Regions from separate parts of the Homo sapiens genome. Here region 1 is linked to region 2. The links are contacts of gene promoters, found by promoter capture Hi-C in blood cells and fetal thymus (Javierre and others, 2016). All regions are on one chromosome and are shown on one strand. Each heading gives the region's core, a stretch centred on a gene start or on the middle of the fragment in contact. The rest is flanking DNA. Distances are from core to core; before and after follow the strand shown.

Region 1 (5,929 bases), core at 1,319-3,818, 220 kb before region 2:
TTCAGGTCCTTTTTAGAAGACGTAGACAGGGCAGAAATAACAAGTCAGAGAGGAAGAAATTCCTAGAAAGAGTGGTCCCGTCATTCCTTTTCTCACTGATTTCCAGGCACTTTCTCTTGACTTACAGCAGTGGTTCTCAAAGTGAGAGTGCATCAGAATCACCTGCAGAGCTCATTAAGTTACTGATGCTGGCCCATCCCCAGAGTGTCTGATTCTGTAGGTCCAGGGTGGGGCCCAGGAAGCTGCATTTCTAACTGGCTCCCAGCGATGCTGATGCTGCTGGTCCAAGGACCACCGAGAACCACTGACTTAAGGGCAAGAAGGAAGCTCCTTCCAACAAATGCATGGAACCTTCCTCAGTTTCCCCCGTGGAACCTTTCTCTGATCGATTGCACATTTGTCACCAGGGAGGAAAAGAACATTAGACTAAGAGTCAGAACAGCAGAGCCCTGGTTCAGGTTATGATACACACTCCCTGATTGAGGCAAGGTTCTTTCCTTTCTGGGACTCTATTTCTGAATCTGTCAAACGGGTTCAATACTAGGACCTACGTCACGGGGGTGATGTGAGGATTGAACTAGATGACATGTTACTGGTGCAAATTCCCTGACTCTGAGGGTACAGCAAAGGCCATATAAGCAGTCCAGGGTCAGTTGTTTTGCACAGGTCTATCCCATCCCTCCCAAGGATGGTATGTGAACCTGTTGGGCTTAAAGGAACCCAGTAAGTTAGACCTTAGACCGTCCACATCACCAGTATTGCGGGCTTTGTCAGTGTCCTTTGGAGGAGGGGGCTGGGCTGGCAGTTCCACTCCACTGTGCCAGGTGATCACAGGGCTCTGGGGGCTGTAGGCCGCTCACTGCTCAGAATCCATCATCGCTGCACCCCAGCCGCATCCCACTGGGCTGACACTGCCACAGGGACAATGCCTTCCTGGAGCTCAGGTCGTCCCACTGCCCTCCCCACAAGCACTGCACCTCCCCCATCCTCAGCTTCTCCCTTCTGTTCTCCACACCGGTTCATTTCAGCCCCTGCCTTGAAAACACAAACACCACTCTCAGAAACAGCAAAGGCAACAAGAATAACAGCAAGCCAGTTTCTTCCCCCACCAAGACAGCCTCTTCTCCCATGGCAGTTTTTTGGGTGGAATGATACCGTTATTCTTCCCTGGGTTAGCCACAGGAGCAAAAGAAACGCTTTAGTCTCTCAGTAGCTCACTGTGACAAGTGCTTGGCCCGTGCTTAAGAATCAGTGGCTTTTTATTATTACTTGGCTTCTGCCTTCCATCAGGCACTCCTTTCCCTGATAGGACATGCCCTCCTCCTGCGGGGCCCCCACCCTCCTTTGTTGGCCACTCTCCTTCCTCCTGCCCTGCCTTCCCCTTAACATACTTCCCCAGTCTGGCAGGAGGGCACCTGCTGGAGGACATCGCTGGCAGCTGGCAGCCGAGGGGGCCCCCAGGGCTGGAGAAAGCAGGAGTGAGAGTGGGATTGGACAAGCAATGCCCTCCCTAGAGTCTGTCCCTTCTAAAGGGCCAGTGGCAGCCCGAGCCATGAATCAGGGGACACGCCATCTTGCTGTTGTCCGCCTTTCTCCAGGTTTTGTCTTGGACTCCTTCCGATCCGAGGCCACCTTGGTCCTCTGGTGCCTTCCCCAGAGCGGGAGCCCCCCTGATCGGCCCTGGGCCTCGGTCACTGCCATTTTCCCTTGCCTGGCGGGGCAACCCTTCTCCATGCAACCTCTCCTACCTGCCTGGCTACAACCCCAGCTGTCTTGCTCATCTTTGCTCTTTGATGCATGGAATGAGCTGGATGAGGTCAGGGACCATGTCCTCTTCCCTGACTCATTACGGGTACCTGGAAGGTAAACCCTGAACAGCAGAGGATCCTTTGGGAAAGCAAATAAAGCCGGAGGCTCCTCGGGACAGGAAATAGCGGTGAGCCAGTGCCAGCAGAAGATTGTGCTCCCGCCTGGGTGTGTGGCTTATTCCCTGGCTCCATTAATTCCTCTCCCTGAGCCTCAGCTTTCTCATCTGTGAATAGGGTCAGTACCTCCTGAATGAGGGCCAAATGTACAGTGCCCAGGTCAGTGCTCAGCCCAGAAGGCTGGCAGGGAGGGAGGTTGTCATTTATTCCTGCAAGCATTCATGCCTTTACCCAGTCAGCCAAGTAACTTAATGGAAGCTTGCAATTAAACAAGAATTAGCTGCACCCGCCTCCTTCCCGGGAGCAGGTCTGACCTGAGCTGGGAGAGGATGTGATCCAGACAGGGGGCTCTGCCTTTTCAGGGCAGCATGAGAAGGGACACTAGAGCTGGAGCTTGAAGAACAAGCATTCCTGGCAGAGAAAGCCATGCCTGTAGGGTCGGAGTGGGGGAACAATGATGTATACAGGGATTGGAGGGGCTGCCAGGTGGCCAGGTGGCTGGATGTAAAGCATGACACTTGCATTCACTCAGCAGATACTGTTTGGGCTTCTACAGTGGACCAAGAAGAAGGTGACAGAGAACAAAGAAACCCAGGTCCCTGACACCACGGGTCCGCTATCAGCACAGGGGAGACTGATGACGGGCAAGGAAACAAATAAGTGGGAAGATTTCAGGTGGTGATGAGAGCTGTGGGCTGGGTCTGGGAGTCCAGCAGTCACTTGGCACGTAGAGGTTGAATGAGTCCATGAAAATGTGCTGCATGCGTTGAGAGAATGGATCTGTAAGCTGATGTGCAGTTCAACACAGAGACAGACAGACTGACCGACCAGTGCTTCCTACACACTTCCATGGCACGTGGAGAATGGGCCTGCTTCACAACCGAGCTCAGAGGAGACCTCCAGGAAGGTAGAATTCAGGCTAAGACTGGAAGTGTGGGTGAGAAACATTCGGAAAGGTAGGAAGAAGGTGCTCCTGGCAGAATGAACAGTGAGTGTAAAGGCCCTGAGAGCAGAGGCAGGGAGGGAAATAAAGCTTAGGAAGACAGTCACCGAGGCCCTGAATGGGACCAAGGAGAACGGGCTGAGCCTATGGGTGGTCAGGCCTGGGAACTGGCCATTCCTGCTGCTGGGACCTGAGCACGGGGGAGGTGGGAGGTGATGGCCCCAGCCCCTTGTAGGCCTAACACCCCTCCCCAGCAGTGAGGTGGGCCTAGGGCAGCGGGGGCCGTAGGGCCAGGTCACAGGAGGAATTTTTACAGTGGCATGGCTGGGCCCTGCCCCCTCTCAGGATACAGAGAAACAATCAAGTCCTATGAAATAATAAACAGTGCCAATACTTCAGTTATCAAATATGCAGCTTCACAACCCCGCAGCAGCTTGAGAGCCAAACATTTGTCTAGACGTGGTGCCTTCTCTGAGGCAGGTTTTGTTTGTTGTTAAGAAGTGAAACCTTCTCCCAGCCCATCTGAGTCAGGAAGGTTGGGTTTATTTCATGGCACTTTTAGAGGAACTGGAAGCCAGATATGGGGTGAGAGGCCATTCTGGGGTCTGCTGTCATTTAGGGGGATCCCCTGCTGAGAACATCCTCGTATTAGCTTCCTGTTGCTGCTGTAACAGATTGCCACAAGCTAAGTGGATTAAAACACCACACATTTAGTATCTTACCGTTCTGGAGATCGGAAGTCTGACGCACTCTCAGTGAGTTAAAGTCAAGGCATCAGCAGGGCTGTGTTCCCTCTGGGGGCTCCGGGGAGAATCCTTCCTGGCCTGCATGCCTTGGCTCGTGGCCCCTTCCCATCTTCCAAGCCAGCCAATGGCTGGTGAGTCTTCGTCACATTGCATCACTCTGACACTGGTTGCTCTTTCTCCCTCTTCCACATTTTAGGACCCTGTTGGTGACAGTGGGCCCACCTGGATAATCCAGGATTATGTCCCTATCATTATCCATAATCTCATCCACAAACTTAATGCTCATTTGTCATGGAACCTAACGTATTCACAGGTTCTAGGGATTAGGGCATCCCTGAGGGCGTTATCCTGCCCACCACAGTCCCCCTGCCCTATTCTGGAAGCTGAGGAAATAGGGTTGAGGAGGAAAGTGAGCCCAGGCCGTAGCTGGAGAGTCTGCACCCTCGGCTTGGGGCTGCCTCCAAGTGGCTTACCTTTCCCACCGCCTCCAACCCCACCACAGCTGCCCCATCACTAACAGATCTCCCCCAACCCCTGTTCTTTTCCTAAATGTTGGTAAAATGGTCATTAAGTAAAGCAGCATTTTTTCCACATCCCTACCCTTGACTTACTTTTTCTTTTGAGATGGGGTCTTGCTCTGCACCCAGGCTAGAGTGCAGTGGCATGATCATAGCTCACTGCAGCCTTGAACTTCTGGGCCCAAGCAATCCTCCTGTGCGCCACCACGCCCAGCTACTTATTTTATTTTTATTTTTAATAGAGACGGAGTCTTGCTATGTTGCCTAAGCTGGTCTAAACTCCTGGGCTCAAGCAATCCCCCCATCTTGGCCTCCCAAAGTGCTGGGATTACAGGCATGAGCCACCACATCTTGTCCCAACCCTTGACATTTTAGAGCCAACCATGCTTTGTTCCAGGGGTCTGTCCTGTGCACAGCGCAATATTTAACCACATCCTTGGCCTGCACCCACTAGCTGCCAGTAGCACCTCTCCACCCAGTGGTGACAATTAAAAATGTCTCCAGACATTGCCAAATGTTCCCTGGGAGGCCGTCGCTGGGGTTGGGAACCACTGAGGTAACGCGTTGGATGTGTCTGTCTTCCCTGCTAGCGACACTGTGTCCGGCACCTGCAGAGGGCCTGCCGCTTAGTATGTGCTCAACACATATTGGTTGAACGAATCAGTGAACCTATGTTAACTTTCTTAATGAATAAATCTATAAGTGTGCATGTATAAAATAGACTCCTGGGTTCCATAGACTGGCTGCCTGAGAGTCACCTGGGGATCCTTTTAAGAAGTCACATTCCTGGGGTCCAATCACAGAGGATTGGGGTACAGCCTAGCAATCTGTATTGTCAAGAGTGCTTCATCAGTTCCCCCAAAACTTAAACATATATACCATATAATCCAGCAATTTCCCTCCTGAGTATATACCCAAAAGAATGGAAAGCAGGGACTTGAACAGATACTTGTTTGCAAATATCCATAGCAGCGTTATACGTAATAGCTAAAAGGTAGAAACAGCCCATGTGTCTATCCACAAATGAATGATAAACAAAAAGTTGTATACCCATACAACAGAATATTATTCAGCCTTCAAAACAAATGAAGTTCTGACACATGCTCCAACATGGGCGAAGCTCGAGGACATTACGCTAAGTGAAAGAACAGACACAAAAGAACATGTATGATTCCCTTATACGAGGTATCTAGAGTAGTCACAATCACAGACATGGAGTGTAGGAGAGAGGTTGCCGGGAGCTAGGAGGAAGGAGGGAATGGGAGTTAATGTTTAATGGGTTCAGAGTTTCAGTTTGGGATGATGAAAGAGTCCTGGAGATGGAAGGTGGTGATGGTTCCACAGCAATGGGAACGTCCTTAATGCAGCTGACTCGTTCACCTAAATAATGGTTAAACTGGTACATTTTATGTTATGCATATTTTGCCATATGCAAAAAATGGTGCTTCATGCCTGCCAGGTCTGAGAATCAGTAGTGTGCGAGAGGAATGGGGAGCAGGGGATGGACCCGTCGAGTTCTAACGACCCTCCCAGGCCTTGCAGCTGCTGGGATGGGGACATCAGACTCTGCTGAGCTAGGGTTTAGGCTGATTTCTTGAGAGGGTGGCCCTATCTGGGCGTGCACAGAAGAACCTCTAGGCTGCCTGAATGAGGGCTGCGGCTAGATGAGGATTGGCTTGTCTGGAGGCCACATGTGCTGTCCCCCGGGCAGCTGCTGCCCAGCTCCGGCTGATTCTTGCCATGTGGGGTGCCTGGCTGTGGGAGAGACGTCCAAGGTCTGGATTTCGATGTGAAATC
Region 2 (5,262 bases), core at 53-2,552:
TGATGGATGGAAGACAGGTTCCAATTAAGTACTTTAAAAGGCGAGTAGCTACTGTTATTCCCACTGTGCAGAACCTCATTCTGCAGAAAGGTCCCACGGCTGGTGAATATGGCGAAGGTGAGATTCGGATCCAGCCAGTCTGGTCCCAGTCTCTAAACCACAATGTCCCTCATAAAATACCAGGAGCAGAAAGGAAATGCACCAACGCGTTGGGACTCTGAGCGCCAAGCAGAAGTGAATCTTGGCGTGGGAAGCCCGGCAAAGCCCCCGAACTTCAGAGTCAGGGGAACCTGGGTTTGAAAGCCTCCCCATCACCTGCGGAGTGTGACTGGGGCAAGTTACCTAACAGCGCCTGGCTTCCGCTCCCTCCTCACTCACCGGGTTGTCCTAGGGGTGAAGGGAGAGTTCACCCAACGCGGTGGACAAAGCCCTTGGCGCACCCAAAGGCCTGCACAGGTCGTAGCTATTGTGATGAGCAAAAGGGTGGAAGGACCGGAATCAAGGGCACGGCTCCACCTTCACCGTGGGGTCTTTGGCCTATCAAGTTGCCCGAGATCGTGGCTCAGGCTGGCCCAAAGTGACGGCCAAGGCGAATCCTTCGTAACGTCAGAACTTCGCTGGCTCGGACCGCAGAAGTGCCCTTCTCCATCCTGGGGTTCCGCCACCCTCGCGATCCCACCTTTTGGCTCCTCGCGGCAGAAGCGAAGGCCCCCGACGCCCCAGGCCCAGGGGCCCAGTCGGATGCCCGGGTCCAGCCGTGCTCCCCCGGGCGCTCGGCATCCTTCCACCCACGCCCGCAGCGGAGGCGGAGAGCGTCACGGAGGGAGAAGCCCGCGCGCCGTTCCGCTTTCGGAATCTGGAGCCCCATGTCACCTCCAAAGTTTGGAGATTTGGGGCGCTCCTTTTTCTCCCAGACCATCACTAAAAAGAAAACTGCGGCTGTTCCTCTTTCAGCCAAACTTCCTCCCCGGGGCTCCCGGAGGAGCTCTGCGCTCCCGTCGCGGCTGGGACCGCGAAGGTGCGGTACCCAGCGGGGAGAGGTGGTGCGGTCGGCCGGGGCTCCAGTCTGGGAGGTACCACCGAGCCGCGCCCGAGCACAAGAGGGAGGGCAGGAGGCCGGGCGGGCGAAACGGCGCCCCGACCCCGAGCCCGCGGGCCCCCGAAGCCGCTTACCTGACGGCGGCCGCTTCCTGCTCAGCCGGCTCACGGCGCGGTTGAACATCGCCGCGGGCGCCCGAGGAGGAAGAAGGAGCAGCCCGGCGGCGCGGCGGCTGAGCCGGAGGAAGGCGAGGAGGAGGAGGAGGGCGAGGAGGAGGAGGAGGAGGGCAAGGAGGAGGAGCGGGCTCAGCACCGCCCCGGAGCTCTAGGTCCCCGCCCGCCGCCCTCCTCCTAGCCAGGCGCCGCGTGGCGCGCTCAGTGCGCCCTGCCCGCCCCCGCTGGTGAGGACTCGCGGTTCCGCTCCGGGGTGCCCGGGCGGGGCAGGGCAGGGCAGCCCCGGGTGACCCCCGATCGCCCAGAGTGTGCCCCGCGCCTGGGATAAGGTGCACTGGCCCAGAGGGAGCCCGCGCCGCCGGGAACTTAGTAGCCCCGCGGAGGCGGTTAGCGCGTCCCGGGGTCCCTGGCCCTCGCCTGAGATGCCGCCCCGGCCCGCCCCGCCCAGCTTCAAGCTCCCGGGCCCATCGCGGTCTCCCGCCTTCTCCCTGTAGCCCCGGAGAAACTGGCACGGCGCCGCGGGCGCACCGCGCTTCGGGGCTCTCAGCGAGCCTTCGCAGGTGGCGGGCGGGGTCCCCTCCCGGGTCACAGGCTGGGAAGCCTAGGCCTCGCGGTTCTGCAGAGTCCGGGCGCGGCCCAGCCTGTGGCCTTTGCCTCCTCGTCACCAGGATCCCCGCCTGCTGGGGCCTGGCTGCTCCTCGACTTCGTGGGCGCTGCGCCTTCCCGCCCCGCGAATGCGGGTGGGGCGTCCCCAGGGCCCGTGCGCTGAGCTAGCCGAGCCGCCGCGGGTGGGCGCCCTCTCCCCGGCCGTGCCGCGCGGGCGCCAGGACTCGGGGAGATCTGAGAGGATTCTGCAGGAACCCCCCGGTTCCTGCGCCGGGCGGTGCTCTGTCCCGCACACCGCGCTCTCGGGACACTTCTCTAACTTTGGGGACACGTGGGCACTGCCTCTGGCAGGGCCTTCAGGCTCCACGACCGGGACCACTCAAGCCCCCACGGCGTCACCTGCTGGGCGCTGCGCGCTCTACGGTCTCCTATTATTTCATTTCTTCTATGGAGCAGCCCCAGAGGGGATGTCATTAGCCCCCATTTTCTTGAACATTTGGTTTGCAAGAAATTGTCTTTCTGGCGAGTTTTATTTTTCTCCTTGTGTATCTGGCTTTGTCTCTAAATTGGTCTTTATTTTTAGCTGTACTAATTGCTATTTTTCCAAACCGTTCCCCAGTCGCCCTCCCCCCATCCCCCCGTCCTTTTGCAGTTTTTTTCACTACTTGGCACTTTCTTTTGTATCTTCTATTCTGAGCTTCCAGTTCTGCTCACTTTCCCTCTCCCTCTACCCACCCCACAGCCCCAGTTGCACCCCAAGTGTGGCCGGTGGTTGCTTGTTGTTTCCCTCCCCGCTATTCCCCCTCCAAAAGTCGTTTTCCTCCGAGCATTTCCAAGCACTCTCCCCCTTCTGCTGCCAAAAGAGGATTTCCAGGCTCCTGAAGCGAACGCGGTGACCAAGAACAGGGTTAGACCCAGCGCGGGGAGTTCTGCTTTTAAAACTGCTGTTGTTGGCCTACTCCGGGCCCAGACAAACTTCCATCTCATTGTAATGGGATCAAGCTGTGATACTTAACTATAGGCAAGAGTTTCACCTTTCGTAAGAGCGGGATTTTAAATGCTGGCAGAGTCCTGGATCCAAGTGAGGTCACTGCGTTCTTAAAACAATAAGGGAATTGGTGCAACGCACTCACCCAGAAAACTTCCCCGAGACCAAATTACAAGTAATCCTAAGACAGGAAATAAGCACACTGGCACACAGGGGTAAAAGTTAGGCACAGCAGCTCAGTGTTTTGCTAGTTGCCAAGTCCACCCTAGCGTGTCCTGAAAAACACTGGTGTGGCTTAAGACATGCTATGAATCCCTCCTGAGCTAAGAACCCCAGGCATCTCTTAAATAAAGGGAAAATATAACAGCCTTAAATCACTTTTACTGTCCTGTTAGCACATCAGAGAGTAAGTACAAAAATTAAGATGCATAGTTAGGGCCAGGCGCTGTGGCTCACGTCTGTAATCCCAGCACTTTGGGAGGCAGAGGCAGGCGGATTACCTGAGGTCAGGAGTTCAAGACCAGCCTGGCTAACATGGTGAAGCCCCATCTGTACTAAAAATACAAAAATTAGCCAGGCCTGGTGGCAGGTGCCTGTAATCCCAGCTACTCAGGAGGCTGACACAGAAGAATCACTTGAGCCTGGGAGGAGGAGGTTGCAGTGAGCCAAGATCTGAAGGAGGAGGTTGCAGTGAGCTGAGATCTCACCACTGCACTCCAGCCTGGGCCACAGAGCAAGACTCTGTCTCCAAAAAAAGGAAAAAAAGGCCGGGTGCGGTGGTTCACACCTGTAATCCCAGCACTTTGGGAGGCCAAGGCGGGCGGATCACCTGAGGTCGGGAGTTCGAGACCAGCCTGACGAACATGGTGAAACCTCATCTCTACTAAAAATACAAAATTAGCCAGGCGCGGTGGCAGGCATCTGTAATCCCAGCTACTCAGGAGGCTGAGGCAGGAGAATCGCTTGAACCCGGGAGGCAGAGTTTGCAGTGAACTGAGATCGAGCCATTGCACTCCAGCCTGGGTGACTGAGCAAGACTCCATCTCAAAAAAAAAAAAAAAAAAAATGCATGGTTAACGTTTAAGTGCACAGTTTAAAATTTTTGCCTGGGACATTGAAATTGCTATAAATACCTGTTTTAAGTGTCTGAAGGTTCAAAAGCCAGTTTTCAAAGTGTATTGTGCAAAAGACCACGTATAAAAGTATAAAGCCTCCTAACTCCTAAAACTCGCCAAATGCACACACACATACACACACACACTCACACACACACACACACACACACACACGATTAAGTTCCAACCGTGGTTTGCATTGGATTGAAGGTGCTCACCATCCCAATGGCATTTTTCCTGTAATTCCAGCATGCACTTTCTGAAGCTTTTTTTTTTTTTTTTTTTTTTTTTTGAGACAGAGGTTTCACTATGTTGTCCAGGCTGATTTCTGACTTCTGGGCTCTCAAGTGATCCTCCCTCCTTAGCCTCCTAAGTCAAGCCTTCACAAACAAACTGCGGTAGCCAGTGTGGGGAAGAAGAGGATGAGCGGTTTAGCCCCTTTCTTCCCCTGCTGGTCTCACTTTTGGTTCAAGGATGTTTACATCAGGCAAGAAGCAAGAGCCCCGGATGTCTTCTGGTAACACAAGATTTCAGAGGGATTACTGGCTTTGGAGTTCAATATTTTCATTCTACCCAGAAACTAAAATATTGGTAAGCTGTGAATACATTTTAGAGCCTCTCATCACCAGAATTTATGTAACAAGACTATTCTAGGCCAGTTGAGGCAGACAAGGTATAGTAAAATGAATAAGTGGCCAACTTAAAGTCAAGAGACCTGGGTACTAATCTGACCAAACAGCAACCAGCTGTGTGGACACACCAGATGTGTCCTCAAACACATCGTAGCCTCAAGGGACAGGGCAAGGAGAGGTCCACCTACACTCCGAGCAAGTGGTATTCAATAGCAATAAACAAAAAAGCATCTGGCATCGTGCCCAGCACATGTAGGCACACAAAAAATTACTGGAATTTTAATTACTCTTACTCCCCCTACAATGATGTTTTAATAAATGATAAACTTTATGGTACAGCCAGTCAAAAGTGGATTTCTTTTCAATTATAGGAAATTGGCAGGGTTAGTAACACTGATGTTCACATTGTTACTACACTGTGAAGGAGGGAAAGTAAATTGTTACAACCTCTCTAGAAGGAAGAGAAGCAGATGTGTTAATATATGTATTTGACAACACATGTAAGAGTCTTCAAAATGTTTATACCTCTTGGACTAGTGAATAATTCTATAATTGGTAATTTGTGCCAAAAGAAAAACAATAAATGATGCGAACATTTACGTGTACAATTAAACATAACACTTCCTTTTATCAGGGTTATTTACAGTAGCTAAAAATGCCCGCTAAGAGAATGACTAAGGTATAACATATTCTCCTGATAGAATATTTA

The links. The method cuts DNA at HindIII sites, captures the fragments that hold promoters and counts their contacts. A CHiCAGO score of 5 or more calls a contact.
Region 1: a contact is called between a fragment that was not itself captured here and the fragment with the promoter of RGS10 in region 2, in 1 of 17 cell types (activated CD4 T cells). The highest score is 5.2, in activated CD4 T cells.

Annotation. Positions count from the first base shown.
Region 1 is chr10:119,317,765-119,323,693 of GRCh38, forward strand. The region is part of intron 1 of GRK5 (G protein-coupled receptor kinase 5); the gene reads left to right. Among named protein-coding and RNA genes, the nearest start is that of GRK5-AS1, 19 kb to the right of the region's middle. RefSeq lists enhancers at 1-206, 207-840. The HindIII fragment of the contact is 775 bases long and covers 2,182-2,956 here.
Region 2 is chr10:119,541,417-119,546,678 of GRCh38, forward strand. It overlaps RGS10 (regulator of G protein signaling 10), which reads right to left and starts at 1,303. Exons shown (of 5, transcript NM_001005339.2): 1 at 1,174-1,303. The coding sequence starts at 1,222. RefSeq lists silencers at 756-925, 976-1,715, 1,726-1,795, 1,846-2,005 and enhancers at 2,216-2,295, 2,558-3,066. The HindIII fragment of the contact is 10,649 bases long and covers 1-4,184 here.